Linked DNA regions of Homo sapiens: regions 1, 2, 3, 4, 5 and 6 are each linked to region 7. Evidence: promoter capture Hi-C in 16 types of primary human blood cells and fetal thymus (Javierre and others, 2016). All regions are on one chromosome and are shown on one strand. Each heading gives the region's core, a stretch centred on a gene start or on the middle of the fragment in contact. The rest is flanking DNA. Distances are from core to core; before and after follow the strand shown. Region 1 overlaps OCRL (OCRL inositol polyphosphate-5-phosphatase). Region 2 has its middle 57 kb from the start of APLN. Region 3 has its middle 40 kb from the start of APLN. Region 4 overlaps OCRL (OCRL inositol polyphosphate-5-phosphatase). Region 5 has its middle 3.5 kb from the start of ENOX2. Region 6 overlaps OCRL (OCRL inositol polyphosphate-5-phosphatase). Region 7 holds the start of AIFM1 (apoptosis inducing factor mitochondria associated 1).

The links. Contacts are between HindIII fragments. The CHiCAGO score rates a contact against its expected background, and 5 or more counts as called.
Region 1: a contact is called between a fragment that was not itself captured here and the fragment with the promoter of AIFM1 in region 7, in 4 of 17 cell types (M1 macrophages, M0 macrophages, total B cells and 1 more). The highest score is 9.1, in M1 macrophages.
Region 2: a contact is called between a fragment that was not itself captured here and the fragment with the promoter of AIFM1 in region 7, in 4 of 17 cell types (total B cells, M1 macrophages, naive CD4 T cells and 1 more). The highest score is 7.1, in total B cells.
Region 3: a contact is called between a fragment that was not itself captured here and the fragment with the promoter of AIFM1 in region 7, in 11 of 17 cell types (naive CD8 T cells, total B cells, non-activated CD4 T cells and 8 more). The highest score is 10.8, in naive CD8 T cells.
Region 4: a fragment that was not itself captured here is called in contact with the fragment with the promoter of AIFM1 in region 7 in 5 of 17 cell types (M1 macrophages, M0 macrophages, M2 macrophages and 2 more); the score reaches 9.0 in M1 macrophages.
Region 5: a contact is called between a fragment that was not itself captured here and the fragment with the promoter of AIFM1 in region 7, in 1 of 17 cell types (naive CD8 T cells). The highest score is 6.0, in naive CD8 T cells.
Region 6: a contact is called between a fragment that was not itself captured here and the fragment with the promoter of AIFM1 in region 7, in 6 of 17 cell types (M2 macrophages, M0 macrophages, total CD8 T cells and 3 more). The highest score is 12.0, in M2 macrophages.

The regions. Positions count from the first base shown.
Region 1 is chrX:129,558,567-129,561,413 of GRCh38, reverse strand. It overlaps OCRL (OCRL inositol polyphosphate-5-phosphatase), which reads right to left. Exons shown (of 24, transcript NM_000276.4): 7 at 2,661-2,781; 8 at 2,413-2,574; 9 at 763-864; 10 at 121-235. Among named protein-coding and RNA genes, the nearest start is that of OCRL, 20 kb to the right of the region's middle. The HindIII fragment of the contact is 2,612 bases long and covers 1-2,556 here.
Region 2 is chrX:129,595,739-129,599,523 of GRCh38, reverse strand. No RefSeq gene overlaps it. Among named protein-coding and RNA genes, the nearest start is that of APLN, 57 kb to the left of the region's middle. The HindIII fragment of the contact is 1,227 bases long and covers 1,127-2,353 here.
Region 3 is chrX:129,613,503-129,617,301 of GRCh38, reverse strand. No RefSeq gene overlaps it. Among named protein-coding and RNA genes, the nearest start is that of APLN, 40 kb to the left of the region's middle. The HindIII fragment of the contact is 7,528 bases long and covers 1-3,799 here.
Region 4 is chrX:129,541,589-129,545,386 of GRCh38, reverse strand. OCRL (OCRL inositol polyphosphate-5-phosphatase) reads right to left here. Exons shown (of 24, transcript NM_000276.4): 3 at 350-429. Among named protein-coding and RNA genes, the nearest start is that of OCRL, 3.2 kb to the right of the region's middle. The HindIII fragment of the contact is 1,359 bases long and covers 673-2,031 here.
Region 5 is chrX:130,904,765-130,908,578 of GRCh38, reverse strand. No RefSeq gene overlaps it. Among named protein-coding and RNA genes, the nearest start is that of ENOX2, 3.5 kb to the right of the region's middle. The HindIII fragment of the contact is 1,296 bases long and covers 1,434-2,729 here.
Region 6 is chrX:129,577,944-129,581,843 of GRCh38, reverse strand. The region is part of intron 18 of OCRL (OCRL inositol polyphosphate-5-phosphatase); the gene reads right to left. Among named protein-coding and RNA genes, the nearest start is that of OCRL, 40 kb to the right of the region's middle. The HindIII fragment of the contact is 1,167 bases long and covers 1,796-2,962 here.
Region 7 is chrX:130,164,524-130,168,122 of GRCh38, reverse strand. It overlaps AIFM1 (apoptosis inducing factor mitochondria associated 1), which reads left to right and starts at 2,282. Exons shown (of 16, transcript NM_004208.4): 1 at 2,282-2,572. The coding sequence starts at 2,467. It also overlaps a transcript of RAB33A not described here. RefSeq lists an enhancer at 2,294-2,633. The HindIII fragment of the contact is 8,785 bases long and covers 1-3,599 here.

The sequences.
Region 1 (2,847 bases), core at 1-2,500, 610 kb after region 7:
ATTACACACAGAGAAGAATTCAATTAAACTATTCTTTTGGAACAAGTTGTAGATAATGGAATAACTCCCGGTGAGCCCTATTTAGTCATACACTTAAAAAGATAATTAAATGCGGCTTACTTTCTTATACTTGGCTTTGGAATGCAAACCTCTCTCTACAGCCATGGACCATTCTTGTTCCTTCACAGATTCAAAGTAGAAGAAGGCTTCTGTGCTCAAGTCCAGTTCTTGGAATCTGAGGAAAAAAGGGATATGAGATCTATACATATCCCATAATTATCTCTGGCTACCTCCTGTCCCATATGTTGAAACATTAGATGAAAAAAAGATGGGAGAGAGATAAATTTTATAGAACTGCTCTGTTCACCCAGGTTATCAGTAAGAACAAGTAGCTTTCTTTTCTAAAGAATTCCCACAAGTACATTCATAAGCTATGCAAAAAATAAATCAAAATACCTCCCACAGAGGATAACAGCAGAGCTTTGCTCTTATATCCTAGGAACTGTCACTGTTAGAACTGACCCCAAGTCTTAGTTTCTATGCAGAATATATAGATTCCTACGGGTTTCAAGAAAATTAGATGCTTCCTTACACCATTTTAGGTATCTGTTCATTTCTGTTCTCACAAATTTGACCCGCAAGTTAACTCTCGTGTATAGTCTACAGTAGGTTTTACCAACAGTCTTTTTTAAAAAAGGCAAAACATCATGTAAATGAACACCAAACATATAGCCAAAAGGAAATTCCAGAAGTGTTCTTTACCCAATGCAGTAGATATCAGGAGGATTGGGATCACAGTTCAGCCAAGGTTCTAACCCGCTATCTGGAGACTGGCCATTCACATTCCAAGTTCCAACAAAAAATCTAATACATAATACGAAAAGATAATTTGAAAACAAAGATCAAGTATAAACCAACAGAAGTTCTTTCTTTTCGCTTCCATACAAAGGTATGTTCACAATATGCTAACATAATTCCTCAAAATGTTTTGCCACATATGTAAGAAAGATCTTTTGCATCTAGAACACAAAGGCAGTGGGCTTATTTTCTCTAAATTTTACATTAAGTAAAACTACAGAAGGAAACCAAGTCTTTATTTTTAAAAAATGCAAAGGTAATTGCTATACCACATTTCCTTTCAATTAAGCTCCATCCAAACTCATACTTGATAGGAGAGCTTATGGATGGGAAAGAGGTATCTTCATGCTGTAAGCTAGTCAAATATGGATAAATGTTCTATAAGGGGCTATAGTTGACTCCAGGAACTCACTTCCTGAAGGATTACAAGGACATCTGTGTAGGAAATTCTGATGAGGCAGACATAGTATTAAGGGGGAAAGCAGAAGGGAAAACTCATGACTGTCTTAACTGTTTACACACAAATATAAGCATAGTGGGGGATATGAGGAACTGCAAGTTTTAGCATAGGGATATAGTTATGACTGAATTAGAATAAATGAGGTATGACAGGATAGCAGATGGGACTAGAATCTTGGACTAGAAGGGTACATTCTGCTCATGAATAACAAAGAAATGTGGTGTTGCTTCATGCATTGGCGATACATGCCACATGGTACCTCACATGCAGCATACACACACAAGTCCAGAAAAAAGATGAAATAAAAAATAATACAGATAAAAGAACCCAAGATAGACCTCCCAATCAAGAGGACTGGGTGAAACTTTCTTTATTTACCAAAGTAAGTAAGTTAAGAGCTAGTGGTAATGATGGACTTTAATTTTCTAATATTGGCTGAAAAAAAAAAACTTAACAGGCCAGATATATAAACACGCTTGCTTATGGAATGTGCTAGGGGAAAATTCTCTAGTACATGTGACCTTGATTTGGTTCTCTAGGACTCAGTAGAGACATTAGTAGACATGGCATTATTAGTAGTTAGAAAATCCAAGGGAAGGCCAAGCACGGTGGCTCAAGCCTGTAATCCTAACACTTTGTGAGGCCAAGGCGGGTGGATTGCCTGAGCTCAGGAATTTGAGACCAGCCTGGGCAACCTGGTGAAACCCAGTCTCTATAAAAAACACAAATATTAGCTGGATGTGGTGGTGTGCACCTGTAGTTCCACCTACTTGCAGGGCTGGCGTGGGAGGATTGCTTACGACTGAGAGGTTGAGGCTACAGTAAGCCATGATCTATCTGCTCTCCAGCCTGGGTGACAAAGAGAGACCCTGACCCACACACACAAAAAAAGAAAATCCAAGGGAAACTGTAGCATCTGCATTATTTCTGATATGCATGTTATTGGCCAGCATAGAGACAGGAGCTTGAAACAGGCAACCATTCCTTTTTATCATATTTTGATTCTTAATTAGGCTAATGTCTTAAATATCAACAGGCCACTGTCTGTTATATATACTAACTTTTTAGACTCAGGAAGCAAAAGAGACACTAACCTGAAAGTCTGAATGTTGACATATTCTTTCTCTCGCTTTGCCAGGATATGTTTGATGAGACCCTCCCGCTGCCCAGATTGGGTATTTGGTACAAAGAGCTTCCGCATGGTGTTGGTCACTTTGGGCTGCTCCTTGTTAGAAGCTTCTTTTTCACGTGGAAGCCTAGCAAATAAATGAGAGATTCAAAAGTAAAATTGTTTAAACTATAATTCTCCTACAAGGCAAATATGTTTTCACATGGGACTTACATTTTATTCACTGAAAAGGGTGGAGGTGGGGGTTCCCGATGAATCCCAGTAGGCTGATTTTGTGAATTTATTTTCTTGTCCAAATTCATAGAAGAAAAATTGTCTTCAAATCCAAGAAGCCCTGAAAGACACAGACCCCAAAGTCAAACGGGGAAAAAATCTAACATCCAACATATCCAGGGTAACA
Region 2 (3,785 bases), core at 491-2,990, 570 kb after region 7:
AGGGCAGATCACGAGGTCAGGAGTTTGAGACCAGCCTGGCCAACACAGTGAAATCCTGTCTCTACTAAAAATACAAAAATTAGCTGGGCATGGTGGCGGGTGCCTGTAATCCCAGCTACTCGGGAGGCTGAGGCAGGAGAATCGCTTGAACCTGGGAGGCGGAGGTTGTAGTGAGCCAAGATCGCGCCACTGCACTCCAGCCTGGGTGGCAGAGCTAGACTCAAAAAAAAAAAAAAAGCACAAAACATAAAATTGATCATCTTAGCCATATTTAAGTGTAGAGTTCAATAGTGTTAGGAGTATTCACATTGCTATGCAATGAATCTCCAGAACATTTTCATCTTGCAAAGCTGAAACTGTATACCCATCAAACAACTGCCCATTTCCCCAATCCCCAGCCCCTGGTAACACCATGCTTCTTTTCTCTATGGATTTGACTATTCTAGGGACCTCATAGAAGTAGAATCATACAGTGCTTTTTGGGACTGGCTTATTTCGTTTAGCATAATGTCCTCAAGGTTGATCCATGTAGCAGCATGTGTCAGAATTCCTTCCTTTTTAAGGCTGAATCATATTCCATTGTATGTAGAGAACTAACACATTTTGTTTTTCTATCCATGGACATTTGGGGTGCTTCCATCTTTTGGCTATTGTGAATAATGCTGCTAGGAACATGGGTGTGCAAATATAGCTTTGAGACCCTGCTTTCAATTCTTTTGGATATATCTCTAGAAGTGGGATTGCTGAACCATATGGTAGTTCTAGTTCTAATTTTTTAATAAACTTTGAGAATCAATTTTAAAAAGCAAATTTAACAAGGCTGATTTTGTTGCCTACAAAACAATAGAAAATAACAGTACTGTGTGGTTGCTAAAAACTATTATCTTCTTGGATTACATTAATATAATTCAGTAAGTCCCCCCCTACCACATGAACTCCTCTAAAGTTAATAGAGCTCAGAATGAATAATTAAATGTATATACATTTCAGGAACACTTATTGGATACACTTATGCTTTAACAGACAATCTTTATTTATTAGCCAAACATCATTGAACACTTACTCTCTGCAAGGCATTGTGGGGAAACTAAAATACGCCCAGCTTGGTTCCCACTCTCCTGAAGCTTCCAGTCCCAAAGGGGCAACAACATCCTTTGGTATGTAGTGTGTTAAAATAGTGGTACAGAGGGCAGGTTCTAGGAGTTCGGGGGAGGGGGGTGGTGGGCAGGGGTTGTGGGAAAAGGCTTCCTGGAAGAGGTGACATTTGGGTTTGATGGGGTTTGGGCAGGTGGAGAGGTGGGGGCTGGAGGGTTCCAGGTGGCTGGTACAGACCACCGAGCCAAAGCAGAGAGTGCGCATGAGTTTAGGGAAGGGAACGGCATGAGAAGGTCGAGTGGGAGACTCAGCCTGAGAGGTGGGTGGAAGAGACTAAGGAGAGCTTTGCATGCCAGGCAGAAGGATTGGAACTTCTGTGGCAAGTGGGCTGGGGGGCCAGCAGGGGTCTGGAATAGGGGAGAGACATCAAAACAGTGCAGTGATGTGTACAGGGAGAGAAACTGGCAACTGAGAAATTAGTTAGAAAGGAGTTAAATACATCAGGCGATTTAACTCCTTACATGAGGCAATGAGTGTTTGAATTTTATTGGTGGGGGGGTGGGGCAGGAGTTGGAGGGGCTGGGAAATGCGCAGTGGAAAGGAGGGGCCAGCTAGAGACTGCGGTTGAGCTGATCTCGGCCCCTTTTCCGTGGAGGTCCTTCCTTCCTCCCTCCTTCTTCTTTCTTGCTTTCTTCCCTTTTTCTCATCTTCCTCCCTCTTTTCTTCCTTCCTGCCCTTCTTTCATCCATCTTTCCTTTTTTTCCTTCTTTTAAAAAAATATTGGCCAGGTGCAGTGGCTCACACCTGTAATCCCAACACTTTGGGAGGCCAAGGCAGGCTGATCACCTGAGATCAGGAGTTCAAGACCAGCCTGGCCAACATGGTGAAAGCCCGTCTCTACTAAAAATAAAAATACAAATAAATTAGCTGGGTGTGGTGGCACGCGCCTGTAGTCCCAGCTACTAGGGAGGCTGAGACAGGAGAATCGCTTGAACACAGGAGGTGCAGGTTGCAGTGAGCCAAGATCGCGCCACTGCACTCCAGCCTGGGCAACAGAGTGAGACTCCGTGTCAAATAAAACAAAACAAACAAAAATATTATGTCTGTCTTGTCTTGTAACGACCAGTCTCACCCATTTTGGTTTCCTTCAGAACCCTGCATGGTAGCCTGCACTTGGCAGGTGCTGGATAAATATTTGTTGAATTGCAATTGGTAACTGATTAGAAAGTGGGGCAGGGGCCAAAAATAACCAAAAGCTTAGGCCTGGGTGATGGGAGAGAGGAGGATGCCAGGAGAAGCTGGTCAAGGTCAAAGAGAAGTTGAATTTGACCTGCCAGCAGGCAATCTAGCTGACATGAAATCTTGGGATGTAGCTAGAAGGGATAGGGGTTTTAAGAAGCACCCTCACCTTCATGCCCACTCCAGCTGGGGAGACAATGGCTGTGTTTAAGAGCACAAATTTTGGGCTCAGAAGTCATTTTCTGGTCAGCCACTAGCCGAGTACCAAGTTATGCTGTCTCTCTGAGCCTCAGTTTTCTCACCTATAAAAGTGGGCTAATGGCCGGGCATGGTGGCTCACACCTGTAATCCCAGCACTTTGGGAGGCCAAGGCGGGTGGATCACGAGGTCAGGAGTTTCAGACCAGCCTGGCCAAGATGGTGAAACCCTGTCACTACTAAAAATACAAAACTTAGCCAGGCGTGGTGGCACGTGCCTGTAATCCCAGCTACTCGGGAGGCTGAGGCAGGAGAATAGCTTGAACACGGGAGGTGGAGGTTGCAGTGAGCCGAGATTATGCTACCGCACTCCAGCCTGGGTGACAGAGCTAGACTCCGTCTTAAAAAAAAAAAAAAAAAGTGGGATAATGTAGTACTTTATCAGGCTATCGTAAAGGCAAAAGTGATGTTAAATGTATTAGTATCTGGGATAAATGACAGCTAGAGTTATTAGTTATTACTCTTCCTAAGGTTAGGAGAAGGAGCATACAGAAGTCACATCACGTCACTTCCCTGAGTAAAGCCAGCCATGGCTCCCTGTGGTGTCGAATGAAATGCAAGCTCCTGCCTGGGGTTCCTCAGGCCCTCTGTGATCACGTTCCTGCTCATCAGTTGTCCAGCAAGTCCTGTCCCTCACAGAGTTCTGCCTGGCTGTCCCCTGAGCACAGCCAGCTGTTTTGCTGCCTTAGGGCCTTTGCATTTCTCTTTTCCTTTGCTCAGAATGTCTTTTGCCAGATCTTGCACGTGTGGCTCTTTTTGGGGGTATTCAAATCAAGATACGGTGTCTTGGCTTCCTGAGGTTTAAGTCTCAGCTAAAACATCACCTCCTCAAATAAACTTTTCCTGACCAAGGCCCCCCGCTGTACCCTCGAGTGCATCCCCGTTTGATACTCTCCACAGTACTTGTCAGGATCTGTAGTGACCTTGGGTACTGTTAATTTGCATGTCTGTCCACCCTCATCCCTGCCCTGCCCTCTTGATGAAGGCACCATGAGAGCGGCAACCTTGTCTGGTTTAATTCTAGATCCCCAGCACCTTGAACAGCACAGGGCGCACAGGAGCCACTCAACAAATACTTGTCAAGTGAATAACCCATACTGAGATGTAGGAGGAGGAGTGATGGTTGATGGGGAAAAGTCCAGAGAGGGTGGAGGAGAAGGGCTCAAAAGTGCAGGTGGAAGAGCTGGTCTTGGC
Region 3 (3,799 bases), core at 22-2,521, 550 kb after region 7:
CAGCCCTAAGACAGCAGTTCTTGCTGAATGAGATCTCAGAATTGGAATGAAAAGCAGGAGAGGCAACATCACCAGCTTCCAGGATGAGCACATTTATCTTGCAGATAAAATAACTGAGACTCAGAAAAAAGGGAGGAGGGTGACAAAGAGACCCCAAAAAAGGGAAAGAGAGTAGAGGAGGGGAATGGTGCGGAAAATAAAGGCTAAAAAGAGAATAGAATGGGAGTTGGAGGAAAAAGGCTACCCCTATGGCCTCTGCAACCTTCTGGCCAATGGTTCCTCTATGCCTTTCTTCTGCCCCCAGCCCTGACCCCCACTTCGCATGCTCCACCTCTCACCTGGGCCTAATGGACATCTTCACTCCTCATGGCACATGGGTCTCTGCTTCCAGCCATCAGACAGCTGAGCACATCCCCCTGGACCCAGGTTGGAGTCTGCCACCCCATCCCAATCCTTCTTCTCCTTTGAGATTCAGCTCAAGTCTCCCTTCCTTGCTATGGCCCTCACTGCCCTTGCCCTCTTCTTAGACAGCATAGAGCTCAGACTGCATAGTTTAGCACTGGGCTGTGTATCGAATGCCACATGGGTTTCCCCACTCCCTCCTGCATGAGATAACACAATCCATCAGGCAAGGCAGAGGCCAAGTCCTGTCCTGTCCTCTCCTCTTCTTCCAGTGGGCCACGCCCTGTGGGCGAGTGAGCTATATTGCTATGATCCAATGAGCTTCCCCTTCGCCATGGGGATCCACTGACCACTAAGGCTAGTAGTGACTGAGGACATAGATTGGGGAGTGTGTGAATGAGTGTGAAAGAGAAAGGGGCCCCAAAATAATAGGAAGAGTCTCTGACAGGGAGGGGAATCCACTTCCCAAGAAAAGGTAGAGAGTGATGATGCCTTGCCAACCGCTGAGACACTGAAGAGGGTAAACAGAAGAACACTGACCCAAGGCTGGGCACCGTGGCTCATGCCTGTAATCCCAGCACTTTGGGAGGCCGAGGCCAGCAGATCACCTGAGGTCAGGAGTTCAAGACCAGCCTGGCCAACATGGCGAAACCCTGTCTCTACTAAAAATACAAAAATTAACCGGGCGTGGTGGCACATGCCTGTAATCCCAGCTACTCGGGAGGCTGAGGCAGGAGAATCGCTTGAACACGGAAGGCTGAGGCAGGAGAATAGCTTGAACCCAGGAGGCAGAGGCTTCAGTGAGCCAAGATGGCACCACTGCACTCCAGCCTGGGTAACAGGGGGAGACTCCGACTCAAAAAAAAAAAAAAAAGAATTCACTCAGAAAAACGCTGACCCAGATCTCCACTGTGTCCAGACCAGCCCACAGAGCAGCTCCTTGCCTTGGTGCTGAGCCCTCCGTCCCAATGCCCTGTGGGGCAGGCCCGGCACTCAGCACTCAGGTGACATTCTGGCAGCGTGGGGCGGGGGGCATTTGTGAGGGTAAGGGTATGGGTGTTGCACCCATCTGGTGACACTCCCTGGCCTGAACCCCACTGGGTCCCACGCCAGGGCCCAGGTGCTTGCACACTCAGCTGCAAGGTCCCTTGGATGAGGTGACTGCCTTGGGGCAGCCACATGTGGGTGAGGAATGGAGCCAAGCTGGGCCTTGTCTCACTCATCTTTGAGTTCCTCTTGCTAACTCTGCCAGCACCTAGCACTGTGCCTGGCACACAATGGGTGTGCAGTAAGCCCTGGCTAATTAATAGTAATAGCAGCTGTCATTTATGAGACACCTACTGTGTGCCAGGCATGGTGCTGAATGCCTTTCAAAGATGATCTCATTTAATCTTGACAACCTTACAAGGAAGGTACTGCATTTGAGTCCCATTTTACAGATGAGAATAACACTCAGAGAGGTTACAGGTAGCTTGTCTAAGGTCGTATGGCAAGCAGATGGTTGGGCTAATATTCAAGGTCAAGTCAATGTGATGCTAGTAGTCAGGCTGGTAACCCCATGCTGTAATGTTGAATAAACGAAAGAACAGGAATCCATGACTGTGACTTCAATAGCCTTATGCTCAGAGCAAAAGACATATGAATCCATGAAATGTGAGGGTCTGAGATACAGCCCCCCTTCCATTGTGTGTGTGCACATACCCCTCCCCCCGCACACACACCTTGGGCTTTGAAAGCCATCTTTTTGGTGCAAACATTGCAACCTCCAGCAGGGAAGTGACGCTGCAATGCAGAGCACAGGCTGTTGCGGATTGGAAGGGGAAGGAAGGCCTGTGCCAGGGCTGCCTTCACACTAAACATAGAAACCCAGAAGGACAGACAACAGCTGAGGTCCTCAGCAGTGCCTGCACCAGGAAACTGATAAGGTTCTGGGGAGAGGGTTTGCCCCTTTGAGAGTTTTGGGAGCCTCTAGTGGCTCTTTGACTGTCCCCTGTCCCCAGGAGGGGCATGGGGGTGGGGTCATTTCAGCACAGCAGCTTTCCAAGCCCAGGAGGGATGAGTGGGTGCCCTTGGGCCCAACTGCTTGTGCCAAGCCTCACCCAATAGCCGACAAACACAAGCAGGCTCAAAAAGAAGAGGAACATCTAGGGCAAGCCAGGCCAATGCCTCAGGTCTCACATATACTAGGGCCTCAAGCTGGACTACTGGAAATGCCCTCACTCCCTTCAGAGCTTTGCTCATGAGTTACTTCCTCAGTGAGTCCTGCCCTGGTCACCCTATTTAAAGTTGCACCCAACCCCCACTCTCCCTATTCCCCTTCTATGCTTTATGTTTCTCTAATAGCATTTATCATCAAATGACAATTTTTACTTATTCATTTTCTTTATTTTCTGTCTCGCTCTATTATATCATATGTACCATGAAAGCAGGGGGCTTTAGGCTGTTTTGATCACTGCTGTAATCCCAGTACCAAGAATTGTAGCTTCCACATAGTTGGAGCTCAAGAAGAATTTGCTGGAATGAATTCACTGATTTCGATGATTTGTGAGCAGTCTACAAAACATGATGATATTTACATTCTACTGCATTTTCAGCCATTCCTTGAGGGAAGCACACGGTGTTTGGGAACATTTCTACATAGAATTCATTAAACTGGGTAGCGCGAGATCCTAACATAGAACAAAGAAAATTCTTGTCAACATGACTTCCCTGCCAAGATGACTTTTTGAAATCTTCACTCTCTTTTTTTTTCTTGTTTTTCCTCTCAACTTTTATTTTAGGTTCGGGAGTACATGTGCAGGTTTGTTACATGGGTAAATCACATGCCACTCAGGTTTGGTGTACAAATGATCCTGTCACCCAGGTAGTGAGCATAGTGTCTGACAGGTAATCTTCACTTCTGACTGAGATTCAAAACTATTAAATCATATACAAAATCAATGAGAAAAATCAGCAGCATCTAATAGGGTATTGTTTGTTTACCACAACTATCAGCAGACAGGATCTAAAATGCTGTAGGAATTGATGTAGCACTTCCTAAGCAACCCAGATCAACAACAACCACAACAAAAACAGGGGAATTCCCAGGTAGTGACTAATAATAGCTCATTTCACCCTCACTGGCTGTGTGGCCTTGAGCAACCTGTTTGACCTCTCTGAGCCTCAATGTCCTCATCTGTAAAACTAGGAATAATAATGGTACCTACCTCATAGGGCCACTGTGAGAATTAAATGAGTTAATAGATGCAAAGTGTTTGGAACAATGCATGGTACATAATAAGCACTATATAAATGTCTCTTATTATTTGTCTTGTTTTGTGCTGGACACTGTGTGTCTTCAGAGAGGATCTATAACCCCCCTCCCTGTGCCCAGCACAAAACACATAAGCATAATATG
Region 4 (3,798 bases), core at 103-2,602, 620 kb after region 7:
CCTTGGTACCTTATGAGCACTGTGTCCGTTAAGCCCAAGAATGTTATTTAAATCCACATATAGGTCAGTCAGCATAAAAAACTACCTACACAGGTAACAATCTACATACATCTCTAACCCAAGCCAAGGAAACAGGTGAGACTATAGACACACATATACAAATATATTTCGATATAACCCTTCAGCATTCTTAGAGAAAGTATCATCTCCTCAATGTTATCTTTTTATGCAAAGAGTAATACATTTCATTTTACATGCACTGACAAATTTAAATATGTATGGTATTACATAATGCAGTAATGACCGAGAAAAAACATTATAAAACTAGCTAAGGAATTAAAGCTAGTACCTTGAACACATCTGAAGTGGCTATTTATAGGAATGATATCTTGAACATGCTGTTCCTTCTCATGCAACTGGATTATTAACCTAGGAAACAGAAGAACGCATCAAAGAACAGCCACTGAAAAACTCATTTAGCAAAAAAATACTTCACTGTCCTGTTATACAAATCTAGTCTGTATTTACTAGACTTGCTGCATCTAGTTCCCTGGATCTGAGCATCATGACAGCTAGATATTGCTCTAGGCCTAAAAGGATGCTAGTGGTGATGAACATCTGATTACCCACACTGTTCTCTAGGCCATATATCCTAAAAACAGTGTACAAGCTTAAGAGCATGAATTACAGAGTATATAGCTTCAGAGTATGCATACCAGAGTGAAGAACTGACAGCTAGATGTGAAGTCCATGAGTGCAGGGACCACAGCTATCTTTACACCACGGAATTTCTAGTACCTAGCACAAAGCCTGGCACACAGGAGTTGCTCGTGTGTGTGGAATCAATGAATTAGAAAATTCATAAATTAACCTTCCAATTATATTCCCATGGCTTTTTACCAAAGAATGGATCTGTCTCTTCAAACAAGCATTCAGGTTCATGGAGGAGTAAGAGGGGGTGCTCAGCCAGCTGGATTGGTCAAAATATCAGTGACCAACAAGGTGGCAGATATCACAACTGGATTGCCTTCAAATCCCTTGTTTCTTCTCTGGTTTCCAAGTTTACGCTGGTATTTCTACATAAACATGAGTAAACCTGACTCCCCAGATGAAATCCATACTTCTAAATCCATACGTACTCCTGAAATATTAATTTTTCATTTATTATTTATCCTTAGTGGTCCAGAATCAAGGTACGACCTACTGGTAAACAGCCATTCTGAACGTCAACTAGCATTCTCAAAGTCAAGCACTCTTCAAGTATTGTTTTTAGTTTTTTGTCAGGAACACTCTGTTTCTTTCCGAGTTTCATCTCAAATATCACCTCCTCCATGAAACTGTCCTCAGTACCCCCAAGCAGAACCAGCAGCCTTATCGCCTTTGTTTGCCCCTCTAATAGAACACTTACACACTCCATTATGGTTATATTTATTTCCCCTCACTGATTTCAGCTCCTTGAAAGCAAAGACCAGATCATATTCAGTTTTGTCTGCAGCCTAATAGATGCTCAACAAATACTGGCTGAATAAATTAACTAGCTTAATTAAGCTATAAGCAGCGGTGAATTTTTCAATGAAACTGTCCAACTTCTGACATTAAAATGTCATTGTTTTGAAGGGTTTGATTTCTATTTTGTTGTCTTTTGGGGGTGCTTGTTGCTTTTGCTTTTTGCATTTTCAAATGTGTTAACTTTGAAGAGGATAACCTGGGATAGGATAAGTAATTACTTAGATAGAACTAAGGGAAATAAAAGTATTAATGCTGTTTTTCTGCTGTGATCCTTCTTGCCTAATTTGCAGGGGTTTGTACTCTAAGGTGATTACAGGAATATGGGGCAGGCCCCTTTCCATCTGGAAAGTTCATGAGTTGAGTGGAGAGTCCTATAAACCCAGATGGAAACCAGAAACCAGATAAAAGGCTGAGAAATCAAGGGTTAAGGAGGAAGAGCTTACTTTGAGGAAGATAAACACAAACCACTAAAATCTCAAAATACATAAACAAGAAATGGTGTTGAACATTAGCATTAAAGCTTCATCTGGACAGTACTGTTAAAAACTATTACAAAACAAATAAACTGAGAATTTAAGTGAATTTCACCAACATTTATTGAGTATTTACTACGTGTTACCCACTAAATTACAATAAAAGAGTAGGGCTAAGAATAAGCATAAAAATTCTGAGTGTAATTATTCATTTCAGAATATAAAGATTAGAAATAATTGGTATACAGCAAAACAATGGAATTCAGAATTTGGTAGTTGTCAAACAGAAAAGAGTGACAAATCCTGAATGCCAACTCTGCCTTATCCCTAGGAAACACTTTGATTTGTTCAAGGAAGGTTAAAGGTCAAACAGGTTTTGTCATAATCTATTATCCTTGAAAAATATGAATCTTAAGTGTTTGATTCCCTGTTTCCAAAAAAACCCTGATTTTTAATTGTAATTTTGGTCAAGCAAATTTCCTATGGTTGACAGTAGGAACCACAGACCTAAAGATTTAAGTCAGGCTTCAAGTTCTAGGATAAAAAAGCCAAAAGTAAAAAGTTCTGGACACTCGAGTCAGAAAAGACACCAGAGAGACAAGAATATGAGGATTACAGATGGTATTATGGTATTAGGTGTCTCCAGCAAATGCTTTCAAGAGAAACTTCTCAGTGTAATTCTGAGACATGTTACATAGGATCAGATCTCAGGTATTCTACTCCCTAATTGCAAACAAGTGACTTAACCTGTCTGTGCTTCAATTTCTGTATCTATAAAAGGGGGATGATGATATTACTATCTTATAGTAACCCTCACATGTGGATTAAATGAACTAACTAATGAAAAGGGCTTAGAACAGTACCTGGCACATAAGCAGCCATTGAATGTTAGTTATATAGCAACAACTATATTAGTTGTTAGTTATATGTTAGTTTATATATAAACTATAGTTTATATGTATTTAAAACTATAGTTTATATATATTTAAAACTATTTACATAGTTTATATATAAACTGCTAATATAGCAACAACTATATTAGTTGTTAGTTATATAGTTGTTATATAGTGTTACCTATATATTAATGTTAGTTATATAGCAGCCCCATACCCCCACATATACCCCCAACTATACCCCCATAACTTACACAGAATTGGAACACACGACTTCCTTATTAGCTCAACAGAGTTCCAAATCTACTAATCCGAGGGACTAGATTCTGGGCTGTGGTCATCTCAACAATGTAGCTACTCTATTCAATCTTCATGATTTTGTTTTTACATTAGAGGAAACCAAGGCACACAAGTTTTACTGGTTTGCCCAAGGGTCACCTCTCTGTAACCCACTCTAGCCTTTGGAAATGTTAGTGGTGTTCCACTTTTCTGCTGAATTTTGTTTTATTAAATTCTGAATTTAGTTTAGTTTCATTAAACTAGTCTTCCAGGGTTTGATGAAATCCGGGTTTGATGAACTTCCCAGTAGAGCTGACTAAGCAGGACCTATGAAAGAGCTACTTCACAGAATTAGCTGACATCCAGTTAGAGTGGCACCAATAGTCTCAGAGAAGAGCAGGTTGGGCCAGTGGGAATTTCTTCCGTGTAAATCTGACAGCATAGATACAGAGGATCTAAAAGTGGGGACTGAGAAAATTGGTTTTAGGCAGAAGCCAATGTTGGGAGATGGCAAGATTTAAGTGAACAATTTTTAAACTGGGAAGGAATATGATGTCAAGAAGCCAATGAATATCCAAGTGAGGTGTCTTGGGCACACAGGGATAGGGGCCTATGATACGTAATGGTCACCATGGATATTTTTG
Region 5 (3,814 bases), core at 832-3,331, 740 kb before region 7:
CTAGCACTAGCTGGAGGTTGAGCAATCAGTCTGGTCACAAACTTAGTCCTCAATTGTGAATAGATGTACCCATGGCACTGGGCACATTATGGTCACTAACAATTAGCAAAGACTGAACTCTACTACTGATACCGAAATGCCTGCTACACTAAGCCAGAGTCTAAGTGCCAGACTGACAACAGGCAATGAACACTCTGAACTCAAACCCTGGCAACATCCTGATCCCAAAACCCTGATTACAGCCTGAGCCTCTAAAGCTTTCAATCTGGATTTTATGTGTTGTTTGTTCTCATCTCAACTCTATCCACTGACTGACAAATAACATCAACAGCTAATCCAAAAAACCTGTTTACACTCTTAGCCTTAAAACCTTCTTCATAGTAAGCCTTACCTTGGTTATTGGTAACTCCCAAACTCTGGTACAAGTTTAATCAGATAGCACTACCACCAATACTCAGTGAACACAAATGCTACATAAAGTCATAGTGGAATTACTCCCTCCAGACTCAACTCTGATAGTGGTCAAATTGAAATGGCTAATACAGGTCACCGACTGAGCCCTGCTCTGGCCACAGAATGAGGGCCAACACAGGCCACTGTGAGTTAGCTCCATAGAACATTGTTGATATGAGCTATGGACAAAGACAGAATCCTGACACTGGCTAAAGTCAGAAACCACACCTTGAACTTACTCTAGCCAAATATGCATCCCAAATCCTGTTCATATTCATCATTGAAATCCTGGCCACAAACTGTATCATAATTTTGTCCATATATGAAATGCTAACTCTGGTTTGAGACAAGGCTCTAGGGCACATGACAGGTAATGTCCTAACATGGCAACAGACTGAATATTAGACATTGACTGTGCCTTACCATTGGCCACGGACTGAGACTTAATTATTGGACCCAGAATAAACTCTAACCATGAATACGAATTGAAACTTAACCTGAAGAAAGACTGAACATAAATCCTGTTCATATTCTTACTTCATTTTTTCCTAGGCAACATCATCAGCATGAAGACTAATCCCAGGCAGAGCCATGGTCCTGGCCTTTATTGACTTTCAAGTCTAGAAATGAAAGTGATTCCAACATTGATCAAAAACTAAAGTCAAACATTGAGCTGAGCCCTAACCTTGGGTGTGGTCTAAGTCTGGTCCACAGACTGAGCCCTAACTCTAATTTTAGAATGAGGCCTCTTCCTACACACAGACTAAATCCTAATTCTGGCCAAAATTTGAACCCAAATCTTGCACCTTGACTTCATAAACCAGGCCACTCTAGACTTACAGCAGCCTCAGAGTGAGCTTTAACACCCTGAGGCTGCTGTTAGTCCAGAGTGGTCAGAAATGCACTTTAATCTGTGACACAGACTGAACCATGGCTCTAAATCTGGGGCCTAATATTGCTATCAGGCTTAACCCTAAGCTTGGTTTGATGGTCTTCTGATCCTGAATCCACAATGGCCTGTAAAAACAGCTACAGACTTACTAAATCTTAACCTGAGAAAAGATTGAAGCTAAATACATTCCACATTATACACATGAACCCTGGCCTTGACCTGGGCTCTACACTGGCTCTGGATACAGCTCTAACCTTGACTTCCTAATTGTTCTCTGAATCCAGCCAGACTGTTTGACCCTGGGCCAGTATTTCACAAATTCATCTTATTATATAACAACAGACCAAAGAGTATCACGTTTGTATATACACATACAAATATATGTATACATTTGTGCTTATATATAATATATATTATATATAAAATTTCTGTATGGCTTATTGGAGATATAGATATGTTTTATATATTATATATAAAATTTCCATATGGCTTATTGGAGATATATATATGTGTGTGTGTGTGTATTTATATCACCATACAGAAATAGCCATACACAGCTGTGACATACACAGTAAGAAATATTACTTATCACAGCTATGTATTTTAATTATTTATCTTGTTTGTTGATGGCTTCTTCCTAACAGAATATAGCCTCCAAAGGGAAGGGATGTTGTATGTGTTTTCCACTTCTCTATTCCCAGCATCTAGAATAATGTCTGGCACATTATAGGTACTCAATAAAAACTTGTTATATTGATGAAGGAGTAATTTCTTCTTACTATTCTGTCCTGCTACTTGACCTCTCTGTAATATATGCCAGTAATTCTACTTTGTTTTCTCTTGGTTCATCTGTTTGGGCATTCCCTCTCAGCTTCCTTGGAAGGCATCTCTTCTTCTACTTGCTACTTGAATATCATTATTTTCCAGGATTCCATAATCTTTGTCTTTTTAAAAACTATTATTCTAAATACTCTCTAAATTGGCTGGGCACAGTGGCTCACGCCTGTAATCCCAGCACTTTGGGAGGCTGAGGCGGGTGGATCACTTGACGTCAGGAGTTCGAGACCAGCCTGGGCAACACAGTGAAGCCCCATCTCTACTAAAAATAAAAAAAAAAATAGCCAGCTGTGGTGGCAGGCACCTGTAATCCCAGCTACTCGGGAGGCTGAGGCAGGAGAATCACTTGAACCCAGGAGGCAGAGGTTGCAGTGAGCCGAGATTGTGCCACTGCACTCCAGCCTAGGCAACAGGGTAAGAAACCGTCTCAAAAAAAAAAATACTCTCTAAGTAAAGTTTAAACAATTTTTCACTTATTTAATTGCCCTCTATATTATACTAATGTCTCCCAAATGTTTAGTTCCAAGCAAGACCTCTCTCCCAAGCTTCCGACCGGCATTTCTCAGCAGCCTATCAGGCATCTCCAACCAAAAGTTCCACAGACTCTTCAAATTTTAAATGTTCAAAACTGATTTCCTCCTATTCTTCACAAAACTTGCTATTCTTTCTAGGTTCAATATCTCAGTGAATGGTACTACCATACACTTAGTCTTCCAAGTCAGAACTTGGGAGTCGTAATGGACTCCTCCCCGTCTCTCACTTTCCACATCTACCAACTCCATCTGATTATTCCATTTCCTGCTAGAAATACTTTGATGAACAGGAACCCATGTTTTAACTCACCATTAAAACCCAAAACCTGTCATAGTGTATGGAACATAGTAGGTGCTCTGCAAATACTTTGAAATCAATGATCAAATCAAAGTAAAGAGTCATGGAAAAAAAGATAAAAAGAAAGGAGACAAAGCTGAGAAAAGAAATTCTGCATTTGATTCACACAATGTTTTTCTGGTGGCCATAATACTGAAAATGCCTTGTTTCACTCCTTTTTATGGCTGAAATGAGGTGATTTTTCTTTTTCTCTTTTTTCTTTCTTTTTTTAATTTTTTAATTTTTTTTGAGACAGAGTCTTGCTCTATCACCCACTACACTCGAGTGTAGTGGTACAATATCGGCTGACTGCAGCCCTAACTTTCCAAGCTCAAGGGATCCTCCTGCTTCAGCTTCCTGAGTAGCTGGGACTACAGGCATGCGCCACTATGCCTGGCTAATTTTCTTGATTTTTTGTAGAGACAAGGTCTCATTATGTTGCCCAAGCTGGTCTCGAACTCCTGGGCTCAAGCAATCCTCCCAACTTGGTGTCCCAAAGTGCTAGGGTTACAGGCATGAGCCCCGGCACCCAGCCGATTTTTCTTTTTTTAAAAAAGCAAATTATTTTCCTGGAGGAATTTAAAAGTATAAAAAGTATTAAAACATAATATAGCAATTCAATTACCACCCTCCAGAATGATTCCCCATAATACCCTAGCTATGTGTTCCCAGTATGTTCTATGTGTATATGCTTTAAAAAATAAACACTATATAAGCACAAAAATTCCTCTGATGGTTCTCTCCCACTTTCAAGTTAAATTA
Region 6 (3,900 bases), core at 1,130-3,629, 590 kb after region 7:
GAGAGAGAGAGAAAGACAAAGGGATCATTCAAAGGCTACCGAGGTAGGTCAAGCAGAAGAAGGTAAACATCTTAATAATGGAAAATTTTATACACACACACACACACACACACACACAGGTGTGTGTATATATATATATATAATTTCTAAGTATATATATTAAAGGATATATATATATAATAAAAGGTATATACATACACTTACAAATGAATGAATACAAGAGAAAATTCTGAAAGAAGAATCAAAAGGACTTTGATTAAATACTGATGGAGGGACAAGAGATTTACTTCTCTAGGTACAGGCACAAAGAAACAACATAGAAATTACATTGAATTCAACCTTGGTCTCAATTTTGAAAACAGAAGCATCACTTAACCTTTATTAGTAAACAGCTTACTCCTATAATAATCCTAAGGTTTCTACTATGAATCACTTAGTTCAACCAATTTTAAAGAGCAGAGATGCCCATTCTCTGCAAAAGGCTATATATGGATTACATTTAAAAAGAGAACTTAGTTCAGGATTTCCCCAGTGGGACAACACTGGCACATAGCAAATGCAATGCAAATCATTCTTTACCCCAACATTCACCCTCAGAAGACTGTTCCCCGTGGTAAATGCAGCTAAAATAAAAGAGTCAATTAGAGGTGGAAGATGCAAATTTAAAAATAAAAAGCATAGCCGGGCACGGTGGCTCACGCCTGTAATCCCAGCACCTTGGGAAGCTGAGGCGGGTGGATCACCTGAGGTCAGGTGTTCAAGACCAGCCTGGCCAACACAGTAAAACCCCATCTCTACTAAAAAGGCAAAAATTAGCCAGGCGTGGTGGCGCGCGCCTGTAGTCCCAGTTACTCGGGAGGCTGAGGCAGGAGAGTCACTTGAACTGGGAGATGGAGGTTGCAGTGAGCCAAGATTGTGCCACTGCACTACAGCCTGGCCGACAGGGTAAGACTCCATCTCAAAAATAAATAAATAAATAGCCGAAAACTGAATGGAAAATGAAGTTCTAAAAAGGATTAGTTCATATGAAATAGAGAAGAAATACAAGCCATATACTTAACAGAGTAAGAAATGGATGGTTAGATTAGTAAGACAAAGTAAAAACATAGTGAAAAAAACACTACGGACAAATTAACAAGTTATTCCTGTTATTTCAAACTTTTGATATTGTTCTCCCAACAGATATGTCCCCAAGCAAATATAGTTTCTCTACCCATCCCTCAACTTTTTTCATCTCCGTATTTACAACTTAGCCACATCTGGCAAGTTCAAGTCTTGTCTCCTTTCAATTAGTCCATTCTACAAGTAACACCAGAATGTTCTTCCAACTATATCAATTTGCAACCTCATACTAATCAGCAAACCCTTCTGATGGTTCTAGATACCCTCTGGCTCATGCATAAACTTATCTATTGACTTCAAGACTCTCTACCACCTGCCCCATTCTCCCTAACCAGCTTCATACATTCTTATCCTTGATCTTCACTTGTCCCAGGGAAATCTTACAGTTTTTCATACATGGTCTTTTCACTTTCACCTTCTACCCTTTATTCAAGATGTCCTCTAAGCCTGGAAGAGCCTGCTCACCCACTATATTAATAAGTGTTTCTTAAGTACTTGGACTTGACTGAAAATACTTCTATAACTAACTCCAAATCACCTTCCTAGTTCACTTTATTCTTATGTGCTAAACTTATTTCTCAGTCATGTTAATGTTACATGTATCAAATATTCATTAAAATGAAAACAGGCTGATTCTGATTTCTATAGGGATTAGCTGGTCAGTCAATAAGCTTTTATAGCATATAAGGGCTTGAATAAACAACATAGGAAAGGAACCTATTGTTAATACAAACTACAACCTTCATAGCAGTCACTTTAAACGACTTTCCAAAATACTGACTTACCAAGCACACCAGACATTAGCCAGTAAAGGTGGTTAATGTTCAGATTATCTTTAACCAAACTCCCTATTAACCATGACTTAAAGTTTAGCCATATTTTATGTGCAAATATACTTTCATCACCACTAAATTATGGGAACTCACATAAACTCCATAATACTTTGTATCCAGTGTGTAATGAATCAATATTGAGGATTATTTGCTACTTAATATTCTAGTTAATATAACAGAAAAATCTATCTTAATTCTGAAAAACAATAAAGATGATTACAAATGGTAGATTTTCATCCGTTTCCCACTTGTGCTAATCTCAACTATTCTAGGAGTGGCAAAGTCACTATTATGAAAAGGGCTGGAAGGATGAAAAATAATTATGTCAGTTATTTCATTCTGCATTTGGTGGGAAGATGGTGTGGCATAAGGATCTTTCTAAAACAGTGCATAAGGATCTTTCTAAAACAGTACATAGAGAGACAACACATACATTGAACTCGTTTCTGGCTTTACCAAAATTTTAGAGCAAATAATACAACAGAGGGCAGGTACCATTATTAACAGCATCATCTCATGAGATTTGAAATACGATATTGGGTCTTGGGGAAAAAAAACATGAATACTATACCTGAGGAATCATTTCAGAAGGTCAAAATCAAGTCACAACAGAGTGAGAAGGTATTAAAGATGGGATACTAATTGTTTTTAGATTTCTTGTTTACTGCTCCACAGTAATGCAGGTTGAGTATTCCCAATCCAGAAATCCAAAATGCTCCAAAACTCGAAACTTTTTGAGTACTGTCATGATGATCAAAGGAAATGCTCATTGAAGCATTTCAGATTTCCGATTTCCAGATTAGGGAAGCTGAACTGGTAAGTATATAATGCATATATTTGAAAATCTGAAAAAGATTGAAATCTGAAACACTTTTGGTCCCAAGCATTTTGGATAATGGATAATCAACCTGTATAGATAATTTCCTCATCAATGAGATACAGGAATTTAATAACACTGAAATGCAACAGACTGTGAAAAGAACCCTAAATCCTACAAAATAAAAGCTTTAAAAGAAAAATGATGTCCACACACATACAATTTAATAAAAACTCAGAAATTCTGTAATTAAAAATGATCAGGGTTCTATTATTTTAACCCTCAATCACTTGTGCACAAAAAGAAGGAAAAAGGCTTCCCAAAGAGCCATTCATTCCTCTAATGATTTTGGTTCCTTTCTGTTCATGGGCAAACATGGTAAAATTACCTGATAGTATACTTTACATAAAATAAAAACTTTATGAGGGTTGAGCCTCTTCTGGCCAATCCCAGAATATGAAAAACTGCAAAGTTTTTCATATTAATGGCTTTGCAGTTTTTCATATTAATGGCAAAGATATTCTAATATCTTCACTGACTCTGACTAAAAATAAGGGTAGGTTCCTGTTTACATGAAGGTGGAAGGAGAGAGTATAAATGGGATAAGTTTAAAAAAAAAAAAAACAAGAAGGAAACAACCAGAAAAATTTAGGAAATGGTTGACCCTTGACTGGACATTTGTACTGGACTCTTAAAAAAGTCAATGTCACTAAAGAAAGTAGGAACTGTACTACTCCAATAGAGACTTCAGAGACCTCACCAAATACTATATGAACCCAGATTGGATTTTGGTTTAAAAAAAGGTATAACAGAAATTCTTGGGACAACTGAAGAAATCTGAATATGGACCGAATGTTAAATGATACTATGGATTACTGTTAGTTTTCTTATACATAATAATGGTATTGTGCTTAAGTGTGCCCTTTTTGTTAAGAGATGCAGGCTGAAGTGTTCAGTGGTGAAGTGACATATTACCACTAAATTTTACATGACACAGCAAAAAACATCTGTGTGTATATATGTACAGAAGGCATGTGGGGGTGTGTTGTACTGTTCTTTCCATTTTTCTGCACATTTGACATTTTTCATAATAAAAAGCTGAAACAAAGAAAGCTGGGAAATAATGTC
Region 7 (3,599 bases), core at 1,033-3,532:
TCACTGCAGTCTCGATCTCCTAGGCTCAAGTGATCCTCCCATCTCAGCCTCCTGAGTAGCTGGAACCACAGGCACATACCACCACGCCTGGCTAATTTAAAAAAAAAATGGTAGAGATGATGTCTCATTATGTGCTCAGGCTGGTCTGGAACTCCTGGCCTCAAGCAATCTTCCCACTCGTCCTCCCAAAGTACTGGCATTACAGGCATGAGCCACTGCACCCGGCCCTGTAATTTCATTCTCTATCCCCATTCCACCAAAAAAAAAAAAAAAGTAACTTCATTACCTCCAAAGTTAGGGCCCAACTCTTGCCAGTTCAAATCTGGCCCCCCACCATACTTGCCTGTCTTTATCACTACTTCTTTATTTTTTTCTTTTTGGAGACAGAGTCTTGCTCCATCATCCAGGCTGGAGTGCAGTGGCACAATCTTGGCTCACTGCAGCCTCCACCTGGCAGGTTCAAGCGAGTCTCCTGCCTCAGTCTCCCTAGTAGCTGGGATTACAGGCGCATGCCATGGCGCCCGGCTAATTTTTGGATTTTTTGTAGAGACGGGGTTTCACCATGTTGGCCAGACTGGTCTTAAACTCCTGACCTAAAGTGATTCACCCGCCTAGGCCTCCCAAAGTGCTGGGATTACAGGCATGAGCCACGGAGCCTGACCACATCAATACTTCTTAGTATGTACTCTCTATCATTGTCCCCCGAAAATGTGCTGGGTTTTGGTTTTTTAAAACAGTTCCAAGCCTTTTCATTTAACAAACAGCATGGTGCTTCCTCTAAGACACTTTACAAATATTAGCTCATTTAGTCTTCCGAACACCCTCCTGAGATTTGTAGATGAGGAAAATGAGGCACAATTAAGTGACTTGCCCAGGTGGCAGAGCCAGGATTCAATGTGGGTTGGTCTGGATCCAAGGTCAACATGTTTAACAATGAAAAATGTTATCTTTGGTCCGAAAGTATTCACCATCTGAAATATCAATCCTTTTCCTCTACTGTTTGAATTTTACTACTCATCCTTCAAGACACAACTCAAATAACTTCTTACACGAAGTTCTACCATAGTGATTCCATCCCATAGTCTTCTCTCTTGCTCTGTCCGGCACTACACCAGATATTATTTCAATGACCGGTATATGTCATCTCCCCAACTAGACAGTGGCCACTTCCTATATAGATGCTATGTCCAAATAAACCCATTGTAAACTGAAAATATCGTTAAGTCGAAACTGCATTTAATACCCTGATAAACCCATCATAAAGTCAAAAAACCGTAAGTTGAACCATGCTTAAGTCCAGATGCTCCTCGACTGACATGGGGTTAGGTCTCATTAAACCCATCATAAAGTCGAAAAATTGTAAGTCGAACCATTGTGAGGGGTAAGTCGGGGACCATCCGTACTTTTCATACCCAACAGAGCCCCTTTTATAGTACAATCCAAGAGGTAAGTGCTCAATAAATACTTGTTAAATGAATATGTAAGCTGAATCTTTGAAACAGGCACATTGTATGTTCTGCATGCAGCCAAAACATTATTTCCAATTTAGCTTATATCTGGCAGAGTCAAAACACTTATTTACACTCAGCCCCTCACCCTACTCCCATAACTGAAAGTTCTGCTTAGCAGACTTCTCTTCCCAGAAAGTCCGAGAAGCACGAACGCTTTTTGCTAACATCCTGCTCCCAAGCACAGAAACCACAGCAGGAGACTGTGTGTATCTGTAGCACCTGGTATACAGCATCTAGGACACACAACTGAACTAATAAATAAAGGTGACAGGCGGGAAGAAGAGCGCAGAATTACTTGTCCAGGAAACGGGTTGGGTGGGAAAGAGCCGGCAACTGGTAAAAGATGGAAGTACACGCCGGATCTGGGAAGCCAGGTTCCGCGCCTCGGACTCATGGAAAAACTGGATCTGGATCACTGCAAAAGAATCAGGAAGGCTTCGGTATCAAGTAACTGGTGTCCTAAAACCAAAAAACAAAGTGCGATGCCGGGGCTACGCTGTTGTGAGATGCTGTTATCAGTTCTCGTCACCAACACAGCGGCAGCACCAGGCACAACCGCCAATCAAAGCGGCCCCACGAGTCCCTCCTTGAACAGGTTCCTTAACTCGTTCAGTCCAACACTGTGCCACAAACTCGCGAAAACCGGCTACCTAGAGCCAGCGTCTTTGCGAGCTTGCGGCCAGCTAGTGCATGCGCAAATCCTCTCGCCGTGCGGACCAATCGCAATGCGGCAGCGAGTGCTACGCCTGCGCAGTAGGCCTCCGGTCGCCGTTCCCCTTCCCCGGCTCTAGCAGGCCGGCTTCTCTGTCCAATGCCCACCCGGAGCTGGGAGGAGGAGTCTGCGTAATGTGCGTGTGAAGAGACTGGGGGAGCTGGCCGGGGCTCACGGTGTTTGACCCGTCGGTCGTGCGTGAGAGGAAAGGGAAGGAGGAGGTCCCGAATAGCGGTCGCCGAAATGTTCCGGTGTGGAGGCCTGGCGGCGGGTGCTTTGAAGCAGAAGCTGGTGCCCTTGGTGCGGACCGTGTGCGTCCGAAGCCCGAGGCAGAGGAACCGGCTCCCAGGTGACTGACCCATTCCAGGCAACCTCCAAGTCCGAGGGCCTGGCGCCTTAGGCTCCCTGTGCCTTGCAGCCCTCTACCCCCGCGTCCCCGCGAGAAACTTAACACATAGTCACGTGAATTCCAAATTGGCAGACTCCGAACCCTGAGTCTTGCAAGCGGAGGAATTGGCTCAGCCATGCCGACCTGACCTTCAAGAGATTTGAACCCAGTAGTCGGCTTGAGGCCTTTTCCCGGGAGCGTTTGCTGTTCAGGGATCCCAGAACAACTGGCTGTCGGCGCCTCCCCGGCATCCCCACCCCCCACCCCCCTTTTTAGAGCAATGAGGTCAAGTAGACTTTGTCATTTACCGATTGAGACTTTAAACAGGACGTTTAAGCCCTACGCCTAAGTTTCTTGTGTAAATGAGGGTGTTATCTGCTCAGCCTTCCAAACCACAGATGAGATCCATGGATTTGAATGCCCAGTGAAACAGAAACGGTGCAGGGCAAGTAAGGAGTCGGTTGGTTGTGTACCAGACACCCAGAGAATTGGCCCAGACTTAATTGGAGATGCCTGAGCCGTGTACTTCTTGGTGGTCTTTAAGGCTTCAAAGAAACAGTTTGCAGAACGCATTGTATTTTGTTCTCCATTAAGTTGTTTCATCAAATTTTAGAGCTGGAAGGGATTTTGTGGTAAAGGTCAACCCACTCATTTTATAGATAATAAACTGAGGCACAGAGAGGTGAAATTACTTGCCAAAGGTCACATAGTTAATTAATAGGTAGAGCTAAGGATAGTTTGCTAGCCTCCAGGTCCTTAATCCCTTCGCTGCAACTCCATACTGCTTCCTAAAGTTGACCTCAAAAAGTTAAGAATGAATTCGGGTCTCTTCCCAGTAATTAGCCCATTGTACATCAGATATCCGTGAATTTATCTGAGCATGGCTTGAGCCTGCTTCTTTTCGTACTGCGTTACTTCATGGGGGCAATGAATGATCCACCTGTAGGAGTTGCTTTGAAAAAAAAATCAGTAATCCTTCAATGTCCAC